Regions from separate parts of the Homo sapiens genome. Here all the other regions are linked to region 3. Evidence: promoter capture Hi-C in 16 types of primary human blood cells and fetal thymus (Javierre and others, 2016). All regions are on one chromosome and are shown on one strand. The core of a region is centred on a gene start or on the middle of the fragment in contact, and the rest is flanking DNA. Distances in the headings are between cores, read along the strand shown. Region 1 overlaps WDR75 (WD repeat domain 75). Region 2 holds the start of ORMDL1 (ORMDL sphingolipid biosynthesis regulator 1). Region 3 holds the start of CCDC150 (coiled-coil domain containing 150). Region 4 holds the start of OSGEPL1-AS1 (OSGEPL1 antisense RNA 1).

Region 1 (2,754 bases), core at 2-2,501, 7.2 Mb after region 3:
TCTAGGCATCCACTGAGGGTCCTGGAACATATCCTCTGTGGACAAGGGAGAGCTACTGTATTACAACACACTAAATTTGTTGCAAACTGGGACCACTACTATCCTATTTTATTAGTTCAAGACACTTGATTTTCACTTGTTCATCTCTTTGAAATTAGAATGCATCTTATAATCAATGGTCTCTTGTAAGTGCTGTCAGCCAGGAGGCATGGTTGTATGAAATGGTATAAGATCAAGAATGTATGAGCAACAAAGCATTTGCGATATATAACCTGCCCTTTGGCTGGAGCCTCTTCTCCATTCCCATGAGTACTTCAGTTCAGAAGCTTAACATCTCCAGCCTGGGCCACTCTTCAGGGCTTCCTACAGTCTCCAGGTACAGTCCTTCAATGCAGCTTTCACAGTCACACCAGACTAATTTTGCAAATTTGACCATATTACTTGCTCAGATAAAGCTAAAATCCTTCACTGTTTTCCCTCTGACTTTAGGAAATGATCTAAATTCTTAAGGCTTTGGTAGTCTGATCCCAGTCTAACTTGAACTACTTTTTCACTTAACACTGTGCTCTATTAAAATAGTTCATAACTCCAACAATTTCCCCCATCCCCCAGACACACCCTATCAATATGAAGAGGTCCTTTAGATATGGCTTCCTTGAGACAGTGGTGGGTAGGGGGCTACTGTTGGCCAAGAAAACTTTCCCTAATTGATTCTGATAAGCTTCCTCAGAAAAAAGGAATATCCTCTCTTCTTGTTTCTCAGCATAGAACAATGGCTTCAATTACTTAAACGCAACCCTTCAAAGTCAACTTTCTCTCCATGGTTTTGCACTCTCTGCTATCTACATAGAACACGTTTTCTAATTACTTCTTTTTTATTTCCTAAGAGTAAGCTTATTTTTTAACTTTTAATTTTGAAATAATTTTAGATTTACAGAAGAATTACAGAGTTCCTGCATACGCTTCACCTAGCTTCCACAAATGTTAGCACTTTACATAAGCACAGCATGTTAGTCAAAACTAAGATATTAACACTGGTACATGACTATTGACTACATAATTTATTTGGAGCTCTTCACTTTTTCCATTAATGTCTTTTTTATGTTCCTAGACCCCAGTCCAGCATACCACCTTAGTTGTCATATCTTCTCAGAACCTTCCAATCAGTGACAGTTTTTCAGTCTTTCCCATTTCTCAGAACTCTTGACTACTGCTTTAAGATTCAGCTCAGAATTTTCTCCCGGAAGCCCTTCCTCATCTTCTCATTCTAGATCAGCACCCGTCCTAATGTGCTTCTACACGACGGTGGGCTTAGCTCCATCACAGAACTTACCACAAGGCATTAAGACTGTCTGTGTACTATGTTTCTCCTCTACCAGACTGTGAGTCTTTGAGGTGAGACACTGTGTTTTCACTTATTAGAAACAATAATAAGTCAAACACAAATGGATTCGAATGTCAGCTTTATTATGTATTAGCTGAATGATGTTGGAGAATTTACTTAACCTCTTTAAACTTCACATCTCCACTTACAGTTAGCCACTGTAAAATGTAAATAACACGTTCTCATAGAGTTTAAGTGAAACATTGCATGCAAATACAAGCTTAGCATACACAGCAAGCACTCACTCAATAGGGATAATACCTTAACCTTGTAGACTGGAAGGTGTGTAATGCACCCACCACAACACCTGTCACATAGGATTCATCTTTGTTGAGAAAGTGAAGAAGTAAGAAATTAGGGATGTTTCAAGTCGGAACCAAGATTTAAACTAGACTCTGAAGGATGTATGATTTAAGGGGTGGGAAGAAAAAATAGCAACATAAGCAAGAGCAAGGAAATGGTATGATTATATACAAGACACAGATAATGTACTTATCTGACAAGCAAAGTGTCTATAATGGGTAGTATCAGGAAACAGTTGGGTAGGAAGAGTTGAGCTATATCAGAGAAGGGATTGAAAGCCATATAGAGGAGCTATAGTTAAGGAGGCAACAAAAAACTGTTAAAAAGTTCAGAGCAAGACTAGAAATAAGAGTTAGAGTAATAATGTTATAACAGTAACAACTTAGGAAAATTGTTACAGCAGCAATACTCAGAATGATCTGTAAGGGAAAAATACTGAGTTTGGGACATTAGCTTGTGGGCAATTTAGGAAAGTGAAAGGCAAGGATGACTCATTGTTTCAGTTTTCTCTACCCTAACAACCCCAGTGCAATAATTCACAGCACCATATAACTGTGGGATGCCGCAGAATGGGATGCAAACAGAACTGGACTGAGAGTCAGTAATATCTAATATGGGAACACCAGGAACTTACATGTATACCCACATGCCCCTCAGAACAACCTACTCAAGTACCTAGAACAGAGTTTTTGTTCTAGTTTCAAGAGGAAGCCGCCAAAATTCCACAAGTCTGTCTTTTTATGATTTTGGCTTTCTTGATAAGCACCTTGAGGTAAAATACAAAATTATTCCTCTTTGTATAAGGCAGCCAATCCCTTGTGGTACCTTGTAGATAATATTCAAATCTTTGCTGAGTTCATTAAAATCCTGTCATTTGTTAGATAAATGGTTTTAATTATTAGCTTATATATAGATGACAAAAAAAAAATCTCTAAATCTTGACCAAGTTCTCCAAACTTCAGTCCTGAATTTCTACCTACTACTAGCTATATCCACCTGGTTGTTTTACAGGTACCTTAGAGTTAATAACCCCGAACTGAACTCTATCTCCCCATTGACACTGACTG
Region 2 (2,738 bases), core at 122-2,621, 6.9 Mb after region 3:
CCTTTCCTTCACCTGCCAACAGATTAGGTATTCCTTCCCCTGCAGTCCCCCTTTACCTCATTTCTAATTAACCTCATCACAAGTTACTCTATTAATATGTGTTTCTGTCTGTTGCTCCTGACTCAGAGTTCTTTGAGGACAGGGGTTTTATATCAATCACACATCGCTAGCATAGCCCCTGGAATATAGCACTCTATACCATATGTGTACCAAATGGAAGGGTTTATATCGGGCTTACAAATCACAGCAAAGAATGTCTGGGAATATCAGGATAGTCAGTCTTCCATATTTGCTGGGAGGGAAAAGGAACACTTCTGAAGAAGTGCTGATGACCCGGAAAGTCAGTTAAGGACAACAGGTGTGCCTAAAAAAGAAGTAAAGATCAGAGAACTCACAGACTTCCATTAGAGAGAACACAAAGAAATCATTTATTTAAAGATCAGACTAAATCCAAAACAATTAGGTTCACAAAGCCAACAGAAATGCAAGATACAGACATACACAGCCAACATTCTCTTAAGTCAATTTCAAAATGTTGAAAGCTATTTCGGCAATAAAAATCACAAACTTTCTGCACTGCCAAGGTGAGGGAAATTACATTTCAAAGGCGATTCCAAAAAAACCTAATCAAGACTTTCCTCAGGATCAATTTTTGGTATTCACATTTCCTTAGCATGTAATACAGGTGCCTGTCTTCGGCGTACGGATAAACCCAGAAGGCCAAGAGCAAAAATCGTGATTAACTTTAAAGAGTTTAACTTGCACCCCTTGTATGATGCCACAGGATACAATACTATAAACCGCCACTCACACAAGATGAGTTACAGTTGCCATGGGTTAAATCTGCTGCCTGGAAAACAAATTTTAAGTCCTCCACCCAGAAGGGTCTGGGGAATGGGACGCAACAAAGACCAAGCCAGAACACCCCGGAGCCCAGACCTGCTCAGAAAACGCGTTCCACGTGTGCGCGCCCGCAAGCCCGGCTTCGCTTCCCGCCCCGCGGGGAGCGCCCTTAGCTGCCCTATAGCGTTCGCGCCCGGACCAGGACGAGTAGAGGGGACGGGGCCCTCGAGCCATCGAGGATATAATAAATACCCGTTAGTCACACCACACTACCTTCCTGCTAGCGCGAGGCAGGCAATTACCATCCACTAGCCGCAAGCAGCCAGCGTCTCACCCGATGCGCAGGCCCAACCCCGCACCCGCACCCGCACCCAGCACGCACGCGCGCGGCAGAGCGGGTGCAGAGAGCGCGGCACTGAGTCCCGCCTCGCCCGGGGGCAACGTGAGATTGGCGCTGCTCGCAGCCAATCCGCTGGCAGCGAGTCTGTCCGGGAAAGCTTCCGCAAGCTGCGCAGCGCCGGGCCTGAGGGCGTGTATCCGCGGCCGTAGCAGCCGGGCTGGTCCTGCTGCGAGCCGGCGGCCCGGAGTGGGGCGGCGGGTAAGTGGGCACGAACGCGGTGGACGCTGTACAGTCGCCTTCGTCGGTAGGGAACTGCTGGCGGCCTAGGGGTCGTCCTGAGAGGGAAAAGCGGGCTCCGGCTGCATCTGCGGCGCCCTGCGTGGCCGTAAGAGCCAAGTGGCCTCAGAGGCTCGCCCCCTACGCAAATCCTCGTTGTCTTGCCAGGGTCCTGACGTGACGTGCGGCCGCGAGAAGGAAGGGGCGGGTTGGGGGAGGCGCTGAGGTGGTAGCAGCGGCGGCTTTTGCTGAGTTTTCTCTGGCCCAGAGCGCTCGGGCTGTCGGTCTAGCAGGGGGGACTCCCCTGAGGGGCCGCTGCGGGTCGCCGTCTTCGGAGGCACCGGCGAGGGCAGAGCCAACAGCCTCTTCACGGTCTGTAAGGTCATTGTTTGCCAGTCGTGGGCAGCGCGGCAAACCTGCTGGGAAAAGGTTTTCTGGTTGGAATAGGATGAGTACCGCACCAGCTTTGCCTTCCAGCTGAGATGTAAATTTCAGGCCTCCATCCTGTGGAACGTGGGAAAACTATCTTGAGTGTTGGCATGTTCTAAGTATGACATAATAGTTTAATGTATGATAAATCATGGGTGTTTAGACGAAAGATTTACACATATAAATTGGAGGCTTTAGCGGTCTTAGTGTAACTAACTTTTCGTCCCCTTAACCCTTGATGCCTGTTCTATGGGTCTCTAGAGCGGAAGGAGCATTATACTCCGGAAACATTTGCTGGAAGGGGTTATGAGAAATTCCTCTCTGTATGCTAACTCCGTAATACAAGCGTTTGTGTATTTTAAAATCACAGCTGTTCCAAATATAATCTAGCCTCGTTTTCCCCCTCCGTCGGATGATAGGTGTTCTTCAGGACAGTTTTATTTTAAGCAATTCTTAGTCTCAAGTAAACACCATCATTAAAAGAACTGAGAACTATTATCAATTCTTCCTTTGGAGTCCATCTTCAATGGAAAGGAGAAGGGAAAACCTTTTTTAAAAAGAAGAAAGAAAACTGAAGTTTTTGATTTGACTAGAGAAATATTCAGAAGACTCCTTATTTTCACCTAGTTTAATCACAAAATTGAGAAACAAACATTATCCCTTGACCATGTAAATTTTACACCACATTATGTCAACAGCATGTACCTTCCACATTGAGTATTCAGAAAGAAGTGATCTGAACTCTGACCATTCTTTATGGATACATTAAGTCAAATATAAGAGTCTGACTACTTGACACACTGGCTCGGTGAGTTCTGCTTTTTCTTTTTAATATAAATTTATTATGTTG
Region 3 (2,700 bases), core at 175-2,674:
AAAAAAAAATTAGCCGGGCGTGGTGGCGTGCTCCTGTAGTTTCAGCTACTCGGATGGCTGAGGCAGGAGAATGGTGTGAACCCAGGAGGCGGAGCTTGCAGTGAGCTGAGACTGCTGCACTCCAGCCTGGGCGACAGAGCGAGACTCCGTTTCAAAAAAACAAAAAACAGAATACACAGAGCCTTGAAGGCCATTGTAGAAGTCTGGCTTTTGCTGTCAGTGATTCTCAGAGTCACTGGAGGTCTATAGCTGAGGAATGCTATCCAACTTTCCTTTTAACTGGATCATTTTGACTCCCTCCCACTCCAAATGGTGGAAGAACAAAAGCAGAAGTAGAGATGCTGCTGGCCAGAACCAAGGTGACAGCAGCGGTATTCCTACTGTAAGAAGTGGTTAGTGGTTAGATATACTTGAAAGATAGCTTTTGCTGATGCATTAGATATGAGATATGAGGGAAAGGAAGAAGCCAAGATTACTACAGGGTTTTTGGCCTGGATGGTGCTATCACTGAGACAATGCAAACTTATTAAGGAAGAATCCGTTTTGTGGAAAAGATAAAGAGTAGTTTTTAAAATGTCAAATTTAAAACATGAAAGATACCAAATACATTATTGAATTTGTGGATCTGAAGTTTGGGGGTGAGGTGTGGACTGGAGACTAATTTCTGAAGAGCTCAAGAAAACCATAAGGCGGGATAACAGAGAACACAAAGGATTAAAGGACCTAGTCCTGAGCACGCCAAGATTAACAAATTAGAAGCATGTGTTGGGGGGCATTTAAGACGGACTAATACGAACTTCTCTAAAGTGGGGTTAAAAATAGACATTTTTCTATCTTTAGAGCCTAATACAGTGCCTGGGAAATTATAGGTGGTAAATAAACAGGAGAATACTTCGACAGGAATTTAACGAATGTCTATTCCGTTCTAGCAAGAGCGCCAGGTACTGCGGAAACCGTAAAGAACAAGTGCAAATTCCTGACACCTATATTCTGGTAAGCAAGCCAGGGAGGATTAACTGGTGGCAAAAATCAAACATTAACGCCGAAATAGCCTTCCCAGGAACCTATTAAACTCCAACTTAACACATAAATAAAGGTGGTATTGGGCTTATCTGGAGGCTTCGGTGGCTATCTCCCATCCCTCAGCTGGAGCCAGGCCAATGCAAACTTCGCTCCTAAATGGCTTTCACCGGCAGCCAACGCCAAAGCGCCTTAAATCAGGGCCCTGAGGTCCAGGGAGTGAGACTGGACTCCGTCAGGACAGGGAGAGGGCGCCAGGGAGTGGTGACTGTCCTTATCTGAGCCGAAGCCTCGCGAGCCTCCGACCACCCCTCACCAGCCCGGGGCCCGGCAGCCTCACCTTACAGTCCATCTGTCCGCCTGAGGCTCCGTACTGCAGCAGGCGAGCGGGTTTCCGTGGAACTAACACAGCATTTTAAACCAACCCGCTCCCCGGCGCAGTAGCTCCGGTACGCAGGCGCACCCGTGGCAGGGCATGTCGGGAACTGTAGTTTTCCCGGCCCAGGAGGGCCCTCAGCCCTGGGCGGGACCCAGGCCGGCATCCGGCGGCGCTCAGGGAATGCGTAGCGCCGTGAACCGAATGGCGGCAGGCTCCACTGTGCTCGCGAGCGGGGCACGCCGGGATATGTAGTTTCCGGCGCCTGCCCTCCGGGGGGTCCTGTGCTGCCCACTTCACAGTGACTTGTCTCCGCCTGGTGAACTCGCGGTGTTCTGCTAATCTTGGTAAATACATACCCTACAGCAGAGTAACGAGCATAAAAATTGGTTAAAAATTCAGAGCTTAAACATTCTTCTCGTTAAAGGAAAAATCAAGTCCCTCTTCGTCCTCGTCCATGATGGCCACATGGAGAGTAAAACACAGAAATCTGTTTTCAGGTCTTTCGTCTCTTCAGCATAAATTATTTCTTGCCCTGTCTACAAGTTAATAGGTATTTGTAAATCTGAGTGTAAGTAGCTATGAAACGGAAAAGAGCATTGAGCTGTCCCTGGTTTTTTTGGTGGTTTGCTTTTTTGAGATAGGGTCTTCCTCTGTCGCCAAGGGTGGATTACGGTGGTGCGATCTCGACTCACTGCAGCCTCGACCTCCCGAGCTCAAGCGATCCTCCCATCTCAGCCTCCCCAGTATCTGGGACCACAGGCGCGCGCCACCACGTCTGGCTAATTTTTGTATTTTTTCGTGGAGGCGGGGTCATCACCATATTGCTCAGGCTGGTCTCTTTGGGCTCGAGCCATCCGCCCACCTCGGCCTCCCAAAGTCCTGGGATTACAGGCGTGCATCACCACACCAGCGTTTCTGAGTTGTTTTGCTTTAAGAATATGTATTCTCACTTAAGGGAAAGCCTTCTATAGTGCAAAGACGCGGCTTTGCGTTTTGGTAGCTGGACAGAACACCTGTTATCCCTGCCAGGGCAATTAAAATGCATTTCTCTCTTCTCCCTGAGAGTGCAGCCAAGAATCACTTCAGCCCTCTCATATAAGCAATCAGATCCGAGATGAGAGCTCATTTACTTAGCCTGACAATTGATCTTGCTATTCTAATTCTTTTCATAGCGGAGCCTCAATGTGAGATGCAGAGACTGCCCATCAAACCACAGCCATATTCATCAAGCTTTGAGCCGATCCGGTGAAGAGAAATGAGCACTGCATACATTATTCAGAGAAAGGGACCAAATAAAGCTT
Region 4 (2,700 bases), core at 51-2,550, 6.9 Mb after region 3:
CTTCTAATCCTAGCTTTGCTTTTCCTAGTTGTGTGACCTCCAAAGCACCCAAACTCTGTGGCCCAGTTGCCTGTAAAATGAGGACAGAAACTATTTCATGGGATTTTGAAAGAAATTAATCTACAGCAGGTGCCTGGTACATAGTGCCACTTTATCATTATTGTTACACATAAATGAAATTTTTGAAAAACATAAGTTCCAAATAAAAAACCTCAACCATATTCTGGTAATTATTTACTTATTTATCTGTATCCACCTCTAGACTGTACTCTGTGGCTTCCCAACATGTTGTTATGGGATTTACTCATCTTTTATACCCAGAGCTTCACAACGTGCAAAGTGCAGGTATATATGCCAGCCCTGTACAACAGTGGATTCTAAGGTCCTTGCTTACTAAAATCTTAAATACCAGCAGGGGAAAAGCCTGACTCTTGGAATAAATCTGTCCAATGTTCAAAACAAAGTTCACAAACCAATAAAAGAAAAAAAAAAAAAAAAGCAGGTGCAAGACTTTGAAAACATACCATGCTGAATTTCATGTACATAGTAAGGAAGGACAACATAATGCATTATGAAAATAGGATGGTTTAAGGCAACTGAATATTTACCACAGCCTTTTTTTTTTTTTTTTTTTTTTTTTTGAGACAGAGTCTCGCTCTGTAGCTCAGGCTGGAGTGCAGTGGCGCGATCTCGGCTCACTGCTACCTCCGCCTCCCGGGTCCCAGTTCAAGCAGTTCTCCTGCCTCAGTCTCCCGATTTTTTTTTTTTTTAATTGTAAAAATAAGCCAGCCCCTTTCTTCCTAGTGAAGTGGGAGAAACGGTTTACACTGTCCGATGAGAAACACTTCCGTTCTTTGGTAACCCTGCTAGGGGGCGCCGCTAGATTCCATCCTATTTCTCCGATGAAAGTATCAGGTACCTCACCCCTAAGTTTAGATTTGATGATAGTTCCCTTAAAAATGAATGACGAATAATCTACCCCATCCTTTTCTCACAGTAGCAACCAAATTCCAGCCAAGGGCAAAAAAAAAATTTCTTTTTAATGTAGCTTAGTGTTTGGAACTTGATGTTGTGTAGTCAGACAAACCTGTATTCGGCCTCCGCTGGATCAGTCACTAGCTGTGTAATTTTACAGAACTCTCATCACCTGCAAATCTGGGGGAAATGCAGGTGCGCACAGAGAGCGTTTTGGGCAAAGACGGCCTTTAAGCTTTTCTTCACTAAGCATGCCGCTCGCTAGCGGAACAGCAGCCAGCTCTGGACGGGACCTTGCACAGTTCCGATGACATCACTTCCGGGCGCCAGGTTCGGGCTTTCTCCTGCAGCGATAAGGGCAGTCGACAGTCTTTAGTAGGGAAAGGAGACAAGTGCTAGCTACTGCCGCCCAAGTGGAAGGTGGGTGAAATTGCTCACTCTTCACCCCACTGACGCTTTTGCGCACCTGGAAAAGCGGTTCCAGTTTGCGCCCGTCGCCGCCTTACAGCCGACAGGAGACCAGCGCTACCCAAGTCACGTGGGTTCAGCCTGCAGCTTTCTTGGCCCGAAAGGGTAGTGCTTCGTACAATCCTCCTTGTCCAGATTTTGTTAATGCAAATCTAATTCCTCTAGGTTGTGTCTGTCTGGGCTGCACTGCCCGCAACTGCCTTCTGCAAATAGGTCGCTCATCTCTAATCCCTGGGATGCCGTGTCCCTTTAGTGTGGTGGAGAAAGGCCCTGCTTTAACACCCAGAAAGTTTTAGAACGGATGATCTGGGGGCATAAAATTAGGTGCTTCGCAGTGTGAAAATACTAGTGTGCTTTAGTGATGGGCTGCTATTATTTTGGGGGAAAAGGATTTGGGAAGATCCTTGTTATGACAAAACCTGTAGCAAAAAGTGGAGATTTAATTCCAAAGATTGCAATTAAGGATAAAATAGGTGTTAGGTTGCAGTTGGCGTGTGTGTGTTTATGTTAACTCTTGTTTTTGAACCAAATGATCCAGTTTTATTTTGAAAGATGTTTTTAGGAGATGGAATACATTAACAGTATTTTTATCTGTTCCATCTGCCTTTGTTGTTTGATTCTTTTTAGAAAATCCACATTTTGTCTTAATTTTAGCTGTCAAAAAATAAATAGCACTTTTCAGAGGACTCTATCAATTATTGTACTTTATATTAGCTGTCTTAATAGTAAGTCTTTTGGTAGGAACAGCATGCAAGTAATAATAATACTAAAAAATTTTATATCTGACCCCTGTTTTCCCCCTTGGAGAACATTATATTCATTCATAATATTATTTATATTCCCATGTTGCTATAGCCTTTACAAACTTTTGGTGACTTTTACAAACTTTCCTGTAATTCTGTAAAACTATATATTGAAAAATAAGCTGGCTAATGTCAGTTGCAAATAATAAGTTGTTTCTGTAATTCTTTTTCAGGAATTATCTATAGAGTAAGTATGCTAATCTTGACTAAGACTGCAGGAGTTTTTTTTAAACCATCAAAAAGGAAAGTTTATGAATTTTTAAGAAGTTTTAATTTTCATCCTGGAACACTATTTCTTCATAAAATAGTATTGGGAATTGAAACTAGTTGTGATGATACAGCAGCTGCTGTGGTGGATGAAACTGGAAATGTGTTGGGAGAAGCAATACATTCCCAAACTGAAGTTCATTTAAAGTAAGTAGACATTATCTTAGTCATTTCCACTTTTTTGGAA

What was found. Contacts are between HindIII fragments. The CHiCAGO score rates a contact against its expected background, and 5 or more counts as called.
Region 1: a contact is called between a fragment that was not itself captured here and the fragment with the promoter of CCDC150 in region 3, in 1 of 17 cell types (non-activated CD4 T cells). The highest score is 5.8, in non-activated CD4 T cells.
Region 2: the fragment with the promoter of ORMDL1 here is called in contact with the fragment with the promoter of CCDC150 in region 3 in 4 of 17 cell types (non-activated CD4 T cells, activated CD4 T cells, total CD4 T cells and 1 more); the score reaches 13.1 in non-activated CD4 T cells.
Region 4: the fragment with the promoter of OSGEPL1-AS1 here is called in contact with the fragment with the promoter of CCDC150 in region 3 in 3 of 17 cell types (non-activated CD4 T cells, total B cells and naive CD8 T cells); the score reaches 8.0 in non-activated CD4 T cells.

Annotation. Positions count from the first base shown.
Region 1 is chr2:189,443,958-189,446,711 of GRCh38, reverse strand. The region is part of intron 1 of WDR75 (WD repeat domain 75); the gene reads right to left. Among named protein-coding and RNA genes, the nearest start is that of WDR75, 3.9 kb to the right of the region's middle. The HindIII fragment of the contact is 711 bases long and covers 896-1,606 here.
Region 2 is chr2:189,782,972-189,785,709 of GRCh38, reverse strand. ORMDL1 (ORMDL sphingolipid biosynthesis regulator 1) reads left to right here and starts at 1,371. Exons shown (of 5, transcript NM_016467.5): 1 at 1,371-1,441; 2 at 2,587-2,696. It overlaps PMS1 (PMS1 homolog 1, mismatch repair system component), which reads right to left and starts at 1,260. Exons shown (of 13, transcript NM_000534.5): 1 at 1,117-1,260. RefSeq lists enhancers at 843-892, 1,443-1,672, 1,683-1,742, 1,833-1,912, 1,198-2,084 and a silencer at 1,253-1,302. The HindIII fragment of the contact is 2,480 bases long and covers 1,343-2,738 here.
Region 3 is chr2:196,638,439-196,641,138 of GRCh38, reverse strand. It overlaps CCDC150 (coiled-coil domain containing 150), which reads right to left and starts at 1,424. Exons shown (of 28, transcript NM_001080539.2): 1 at 1,361-1,424. The coding sequence starts at 1,372. It overlaps LOC105373823 (a long non-coding RNA gene), which reads left to right and starts at 1,454. Exons shown (of 2, transcript XR_923747.3): 1 at 1,454-1,743; 2 at 2,572-2,700. RefSeq lists enhancers at 563-1,100, 1,101-1,638, 1,623-1,672, 1,693-1,912. The HindIII fragment of the contact is 4,677 bases long and covers 1-2,631 here.
Region 4 is chr2:189,761,380-189,764,079 of GRCh38, reverse strand. It overlaps OSGEPL1-AS1 (OSGEPL1 antisense RNA 1), which reads right to left and starts at 1,300. Exons shown (of 2, transcript NR_102429.1): 1 at 1,088-1,300. It overlaps OSGEPL1 (O-sialoglycoprotein endopeptidase like 1), which reads left to right and starts at 1,288. Exons shown (of 9, transcript NM_022353.3): 1 at 1,288-1,395; 2 at 2,420-2,660. The coding sequence starts at 2,440. It also overlaps a transcript of ANKAR not described here and a transcript of ORMDL1 not described here. RefSeq lists enhancers at 613-1,359, 1,646-1,805. The HindIII fragment of the contact is 3,776 bases long and covers 1,213-2,700 here.